Regions from separate parts of the Homo sapiens genome. Here region 2 is linked to region 1. The links are contacts of gene promoters, found by promoter capture Hi-C in human tissues and cell types (Jung and others, 2019). All regions are on one chromosome and are shown on one strand. The core of a region is centred on a gene start or on the middle of the fragment in contact, and the rest is flanking DNA. Distances in the headings are between cores, read along the strand shown.

Evidence for each region. The method cuts DNA at HindIII sites, captures the fragments that hold promoters and counts their contacts. A contact is called where the count stands out against the background at its distance.
Region 2: a contact is called between a fragment that was not itself captured here and the fragment with the promoter of LMTK2 in region 1, in 1 of the 25 tissues and cell types used here (lymphoblastoid cells).

The regions. Positions count from the first base shown.
Region 1 is chr7:98,105,488-98,109,579 of GRCh38, reverse strand. It overlaps LMTK2 (lemur tyrosine kinase 2), which reads right to left and starts at 2,718. Exons shown (of 14, transcript NM_014916.4): 1 at 2,300-2,718. The coding sequence starts at 2,402. The HindIII fragment of the contact is 4,738 bases long and covers 1-4,077 here.
Region 2 is chr7:96,196,171-96,199,798 of GRCh38, reverse strand. All of the region lies in intron 5 of SLC25A13 (solute carrier family 25 member 13), which reads left to right. Among named protein-coding and RNA genes, the nearest start is that of MIR591, 22 kb to the left of the region's middle. The HindIII fragment of the contact is 3,805 bases long and covers 440-3,628 here.

The DNA of each region.
Region 1 (4,092 bases), core at 1,469-3,968:
TAGAGAGGGAATTTCACCATGTTGGTCAGGCTGGTCTCGAACTCCTGACCTCAAGCAATCCACCCACCTGGGCCTCCCAAAGTGCTGGGATTACAGGTGTGATCCACTGCTCCCGGCCTGACTGTGCGTCTTTTCCACAGACTTTAACCCTAGGTACCCATTATTCATATGCAACACGTCAAAACATATACACCTATCCTACAAAGATCAGAATATGAAAGGAAAATTTGTAGCAAAAGTTGCTACAAATTACCAAATATTTCCTTATGCTATATGTATGTCAAGATTTGATATCTCTATTTACAGATTAACTTTTCTGATTGCTTTGTTCTACAACACCCCAACAAAATTCATTTTATAATTCATGACACCATAAAATTGTAAAAGAATGGAATAAAAACCGTGTAAGAAGTGTACAGGTGGCCAGGCGCGGTGGCTCACGCCTGTAATCCCAGCACTTTGGGAGGCTGAGGCGGGTGAATCACGAGGTCAGGAGTTCAAGACCGGCCTGGCCAAGATGATGAAACCCGTCTCTACTAAAAATACAAAAATTAGCCGGACATGGTGGCAGGGGCCTGTAGTCCCAGCTACACAGGAGGCTGAGGCAGAGAACTGCTTGAACTCGGAAGGGGGGGGTTGCAGTCAGCTGATATCGCACCGATGATGCACTCCAGCCTGGGTGACAGAGCAAGACTCCGTCTCAAAAAAAAAAAAAAAAAAAAAGTGTGCAGGCAGACATAGGTTCCTATAAAGAATCGATACTTCAAAATATATAAAAATCCAATTAAGTGTAAAGTCATCTGGAAATTTCTTGAATCCCCATCATATAAATACTCTTTACCTACTACACTATACTAGTGCTAACTTTCAATATCAATATCTTTAAATATCAACATCACCATCCTTCCACATAATCTTTCATTATTTCCCAGGCATTTCCTGTGACTCTTTCCGGGGTTGCCTATACACATCTGATAACATTTACTCTTCTTATCTATCGGATCAGAAAACAGAATTCACCTCACAAGTATTTGATCTAAGGCAGTAACAGAAATTTAGTGCTACATTATACGGTACAATGAGGACATTTAACGTTCAACTAAAGGGCACTCAATGACAAACCCTGATGTAGCTCTGGAAGCAATTACATGTAGCTTTCATCGTAGATTTGTTTGAAAAATATGTCTTTACTGGAGACAGTACATCCACATTCTGTACCCAATTAACATTATTCCAAAATAACTCTTGACCTCGAGAGTATTCCAAAACAGTTACAAGACTTAAAAAAAATCATACAACTAGGGGTATCTAAGACCTGGCTTTGGGGCTCTGCCTACAACGAAGCTGTGTCACCCTGGGTAGGTCATTTGACCCAACATGCCCAGTATCTCCTACTACGTAAAGAAGAAATTGGTCTAAATTTTCTTTAAGGTCTCTTCTAACTCTAACATTCTATGAATGTATGAAATTTCAATCTTTCCCCATTTCAAAGGTAATGGCGGCAGTCAATAACGCCAAGTTAGCCTAGATTTTTTTTTCCTTTTTAGAAAAATGACCCAACTTGGGATGTTTTCTTGGGTTGAAGTTTTATTTAGGAAAATAAACCCCAAATAAAAACGATGTTGAGAAAATGGGCGGGGGGGGAGAAAAGAAAATCATACACTGACGTTAGCTAAAATAGAAACTTCCATCACCCTTAAGCCAGTTTGTCAATAGTTATTCAACGCCTGCTACTCTAATCACTGGCTTCCTAAAATAGAAATATTTATAGTTGTTTCCTTCTCATCCCCGGAGATACATTCCGAATAAAAAGCACAGCGTCTAAAATCAATTTACAACTTCAGAATAAGTTGCAAGGAGCGAAAACAAACTCCGCACAGCTCGCCAAGTCATTTGCATTTAAGTATGATTAGGGCTAAGAAACGGTTCTTATGAGATGCGAAAAAAAAGCACAAGAGGCAGGTGACATCTGGAAAGGGAAGCTGAACTGCCAGGAAGCGATATAAGCTGAGGATCTTAAGGCAACAGGTCCAGGGCCGGCACCGCAGCCTATCCCGGGAGGGGTCGGTGGCTGCTACCTCGCCCGCCGCCCTCCCCAGCCCCAACGACGTCGCCTCGCTCCCGCCCCCCCAAATCCCACGCCCCTGCGGCAGAAATCTCCCTAATCACTCGCCTCCCTGGGCTTCCCGCCCCCGGCAGGCCCTCCGATTCCTCGGCGCCGAGGCCGGCCCGGCCCTGCCGCCCCCTCCCCTCCACGCCGAAGACCCCGCAGCCCCGTCCCCGCCGCGGGCCCGCTCACCTGCACCTGTTTGCGGAAGTGGCGCGGCCCCAGCACTGCCGGCGATCAGGAGGACCAGCAGCAGCAGCAGCAGCCTCCGCCGCAACGCCGGCGGCCCCGGCATCTCGCCCACGGCGCGGCTCCGGGGCCGGCCCTCGAGTCGCCTTCCGTCCGTCCGTCCGTTCGCCCGTCAGTCGATCCTGCCTCCCTCCGCTGCCTCAGTGGCACCCGCGCCGGTTGCTCCCGAGCACACGTTGCTTCTGCCAAACCTCGGTCCGGCTCCCGGTCCGCACCTGCCGCTCCAGTCGCAGAAACACCATCCTTCCCGCCCGCCTGCGCCGCCGCCGCCGCCTCTCAACAGCAGCAACGCCAGCAGCCCTGCGGAGCGGCGGGCCTGGGAAGCCGCGCTCCCGCCGCCATGATGGGCTGCGTCATGTGACGTAGCGCGGGGGCGGGATGTCGTGATGGACAGGGCGGCCAGCCACTCGTCAGTCCACACCGGCCCAGGAGGCCCCGCCCATCATCCTGAAGGAGTGAGCGGTGGCGGCCGGTGCGCCCCCTGCAGACGGAGGAGTGCGTGGGCAGCAGGTAACACCAACAATTATTTTAAATTGAAAAATACAGGAAAATGTAAAGAAGACCATGACAATCATCCTGATATTTTTTTCTCGGTGTTTTATAACATGCAAAAATAGGCCTGTCTTGTCTTCTGCCTTTTTTTTTTTTTTACTTGTCAGAGCTGTTTTAGGCTCTTCTCCTTAAGTTGACCTACACATCCTCTCAGCCATCAAACAGCTTTGGGCTTTTCACTTGAATTGATCAAGAGAATGCCTCTCTCGGCATCACCCACTGACTCACCTCCTGAGCTCAAGCTGTTGCCTCTTGTCCACCTGGCAGACACTCTTCCTTTCATCTGTCGAGACTCACCTGACATATGACTTCATCTATGACTCTCTAGGAGAAATGACTGTCATCTCCTTAGTGCCCCGCCCTGGCCCTGTGTGGACTGCTATCCTAGCTGCAGTATCCTATTGACCCGTGACTGTAAGCTCCCTGAGGACAGCAACTGTGTCTGATTCAGCTGGTGGGAAATCCCTGGTGCAGGACCTGGGTCGGAGCAGGTGTTCTCTAAAGCAATGGTGCATGGCCCTGGTCCCAGGTACCAGGGCAGAGCAGCTCCCAGGGGTGGCCTTCTCCCCACCAAGAGGTGAGGTGAGAACACAGTCCTGCAGAGAGGATAGAGAAAGCACTCTCCAGACACAAGTAATATAGTGGTCAGAGGCATGGGGGTTGGGAAAATGCTAAGCTTTTCTGGAGAGGCGCTATGGTTCAGTGTGTGCATGAGAGGAGCTGATTTCAATCTTATCAGATGAGACTTTGCCACCTGGCAACAGTGTAACCTCCCCAATTCTCCAAACTCCCCAAATGTCCATCCTAAATGCCAGCTGTCGATGATGTTAACACAGCACTGGACACACAGATGATGCCCAGGGAATATTTGTTGGATGATTGAGGCAAGCCAATAAATATCTAAGGAGACAAATACCTGGAACGAGAAACATTGAATTTAAAAGTCCATGGCTTGGCTGGGCACGGTGGCTCACACCTGTAATCTCAGCACTTTGGGAGGCCAAGGTGGGTGAATCACTTCAGACCAGGAGTTCAAGACCAGCCTGGCCAACATGGTCATACCCCATCTCTACTAAAAATACAAAAAGTATTAGCCAGACACGGTGACGCATGCCTGTAATCCCAGCTGCTTGGGAGGCTGAGGCAGGAAAATTGCTCGAACCCAGGAGGCGGAGGTTGCGGTG
Region 2 (3,628 bases), core at 1,093-3,592, 1.9 Mb after region 1:
TAGCAATTTTGAAGAGTTTGATTTTTTTTTTCTACAGCAGTCTGAATGGGTGTGTTGAAGTAGTTGGAAACTGCTGCAATAAAAGCCTGTTGCATTAATCATCATGCACCAGAATAGAGGGAACAGAAAATAGTTCACTGGCACATATTAAAGAGAAATTGGGCCTCCTTTCATGTACTTGAGTGGAACTGCCTTAGAGATAGCTGCAGAACTCCTGCTCTTGGACCTTCTGGCCTTAGGTGATAGGAAGGGCCATTTGTCTTCAGTTGGTAACTGTCTTCGGCAGCAGCATTTAGTAAGCACCCATTGCCTGGTACTGTTAAGAGCTCTCTTTAGAGAGACACTTCATTTTCTCAGCTCTCTGGATTTGCTACAAGGTTTCAGGCCCTGTGTCTTATTTTCTTTATTCACTTATTTAGGTATCAGTTTGATTTTTGTTGTCTGCCTGCTCTTTGTATGCACTGTGGGATGATCTCACCCATTTCTACAATCATCTTTTTCTTCATCTGGTTTTTGGTAGGTCCCCTCTAAAAGGAACAGGCAGTCTGTGTAGGCTAACATCATGGCTCCAGAAGCCGACTGCCTGGATGCATATTCAGTTTCATCCTTGCCCGTGTCACCCTTGGCTCATTCTTACCTCATTTTTCCATCTTCAGAACAGAGGTGATGGTAGGACCACCTCGGTTGTGGAGAGGATTCAAAGAGATGAAGCAGGGAAAACACAACAGTCCCTGGGACATAGCATGCACTTAATAACTTAGTAAACGTTCTCCTTGTGATGTTTTCTCTAAAATCCTGTTATCTGAATTTCCCAGATCTGTATTTCTACCTGTACCTTCAGCTTTCTTTTGTGTGCCTCTTAACTTTTTGTTTATAACTGAAACTCACTTCATTCCAGGTTTTTCATCATGGTCAACCACCTCATCTCTTTCCCCTTAAGTATTTTCCTTTGTGGTAGAGTATCTTCCCCATCATTCAAAATGTGGATTTTTGAGATATATCTTACTTCATTTATATATTCAAATCATCATCAAAATTTTCTTAAAGTCTCTTTTCCTACCTGTCCAAATCTAGTTATGACCCCCTTATTTATGATTTTGCCTGAGGCAGCATAAGTTAGTAGTTAAGAATCTCAGTTTTAAAAGCTGACATCCCTTGCTTTGGATCTTAACTCTTCCACTTTTTAGTTGTGTGACTTTAGGCTAGTTACCTGACCTCTCTGAACTTCAGGTGCCTCTGTGTAAAATGAAGATAATAATCATTACTTCACAGAAGTATTGTGAGGCTTAAGTGAAATGCTGTCTTTGAAGTTCTTGGCATAGCCCCTGGTCTGTAGTGAGTGTTGAAGCATTCAGCTTTTGTTATCCTCCATCCTGGCTGATGTTCATTTTTCCGTTCCTGTGGCTAGTTCAGAATGATTGAGCAGAACCACTGTTTCATATTGCAAGAGACTTTAGAGGTTTTTAAACCTTTCACCTGGACAAAAATCAAAGCCACTGTTTTTTAAATGCCTGTCATTCATGACCTCTGGTTTTTACAACCCTGCACAGTAGGTGGTGTTGTGCCTATTCTGTAGAAGAAAATCTGAGGCTCTAAGATGCAAACAATCACCTGAGCTCTCCCGGGTGGCAGTGTCATGACTTCTGTTTACGCTCTACCCATGCCTGTTCCAGATTTCTTATTGTCATCATAATGTATGGCTTCCATAACTCCCTCTATTAAAGATAAGGTTAAATTCTTGACATGTGTTCCTCAGCCTATGGTTGAACACGTATTTCTGGTGTCAGGGAACCTGCTACTTTTCAAGGTAGCCCATTTTACTGCTGAATAGTTCTATAGGTTAAAGACTTCTTCTGTGTACTGTGCTAAACTCTGACCCCTATAGCATCTCTCCATTTTTTCAAAAGAAATAGAGGGGCAGCCTAATATTTTTTTTACTTGATAGTCTTTTAACTTTTAAATATGTGAATGTAATGATTACTGCCCATATTGTTCTCCCCTCCTCTGCACAGATGACTCGTTTACTTCTGATCCCCTTCATTTTAGAAATAAATACTATTTTGTATATGCTATATTTCATGCATACTAAAAGCTCTCTGTCTCTGTTTTATCCCTTCTGAGTTGAGATCTAGGAGCTGTCAGTCTCTTGACAACCCATAGTATACATTCAGATTTTCATTAAATAGCTTTTGAGGTGCAAACCAGGAGCTTTGATTTTAAGTCATTCTGCCATGAGTAGTGAGCCTAGTCATTTATTTCAAAGACCACACATTTCTTTCATATTTACGGAGTAACCTATGTGTTAGCTCCCACTGGCCTCCTGATTTAATTTTTTCCTCCTTTGTCTCTTGGGGCTATGGGAAAGAGAGCAAAAAGGGAGTGAGGCCAGGAGAAGGCCTTTTAGATTTGGTTTCTCTCCTCCTTGGTCTCTGCTACTATTGGTAAAACAATCCTGATGCTCTGGGTGTACAGAAGCCCTTTGCCTTAATGGAAAACTTTAGGGAATTTTATTATTTTTCCACAAAAATAGGCAACAGTAAAATCTAGAGCATTAAATGCAAATTGAGTTTTTATCTTTCCACAGCTGTTAAGATTTCTTAGTGTCAAATTTATTTTTTAATCAAATTCCTGACAGTAGCTTTGTCTGAGGTTCCCCATGCAGTTGAGTGAAGTATTAGGAGCATGGGTAGATAGAGGGCTGGGGAGTAGAAATGCTGAGGCTTGAATTCCAGCTTTACTGCTTCCTGTCAGTGAGACTTTAGTTTGCTCAACTGCTATAGTGAGGTTAATAATAGTACCTACCTTATAGGCTTGCAGTAAGCATTCCATGAATTAATTCCTGTAAAATGCTTTACAGCAGTGCCTGCTGCATAATACATGCTTGCTAAGTGCTATTGCATGGTTGTCATACTGGTTGAGGTCATGGTTTCATTTCTTCACCCGGAAGGAGAAACAGTCACGACATAAACAGATGATCTTCAGAAGGCAACCCACGTCTTCAGAATGCTGCTTTTAAAGTTGGAGAGCCACCTAACTGCGTGTTTTCACTCTGTCCTGCTATTTAGAGAACTACATAGATCTAGCATTTTGTCTTCTGTGGAACTTATAATGCCCCCAATCTTTAAGAGCTGTTGGAAATGTATTCTCAGGTTGTTCATCATCAGACTTAAAATAACTTTCTTACTCCAACTTGAGGGGTCCCTGCTCATAGATGTTTAATCATGGAAGCGTGGGCACAGGATGTGTTGTAACACTGTCCTAATCACAGGTATGTCCCCTGTCCTGCTATGTGAGCACCAGCCCCCACCTTGGCATCCATTCCCAATCTGGAATTCTGGACAGGCTGGTCTTAGCATTGTGGCTTCCTGCTTTCTGAGGAGATGGGGTTGCCAGAGAAAGCGGTGCCATTTTTGGTATAATTGTCTGAGGATCTCTAAGATGTTGAGTTATAAACTAGGGAAAATGGTAAATCGCTGAACATACCTTCTACTATTGTTGAGAGTAGTCTTGGCTTAGCTAGCTTTAGCAATGGGTCTGGTAATTCAAAGGAGACTGTTCATTTACTTTCAATTGAATACGCACTGTGGTCATTTTTCACTACAGGGTGTTTAACAGTTGATTTCTTCTT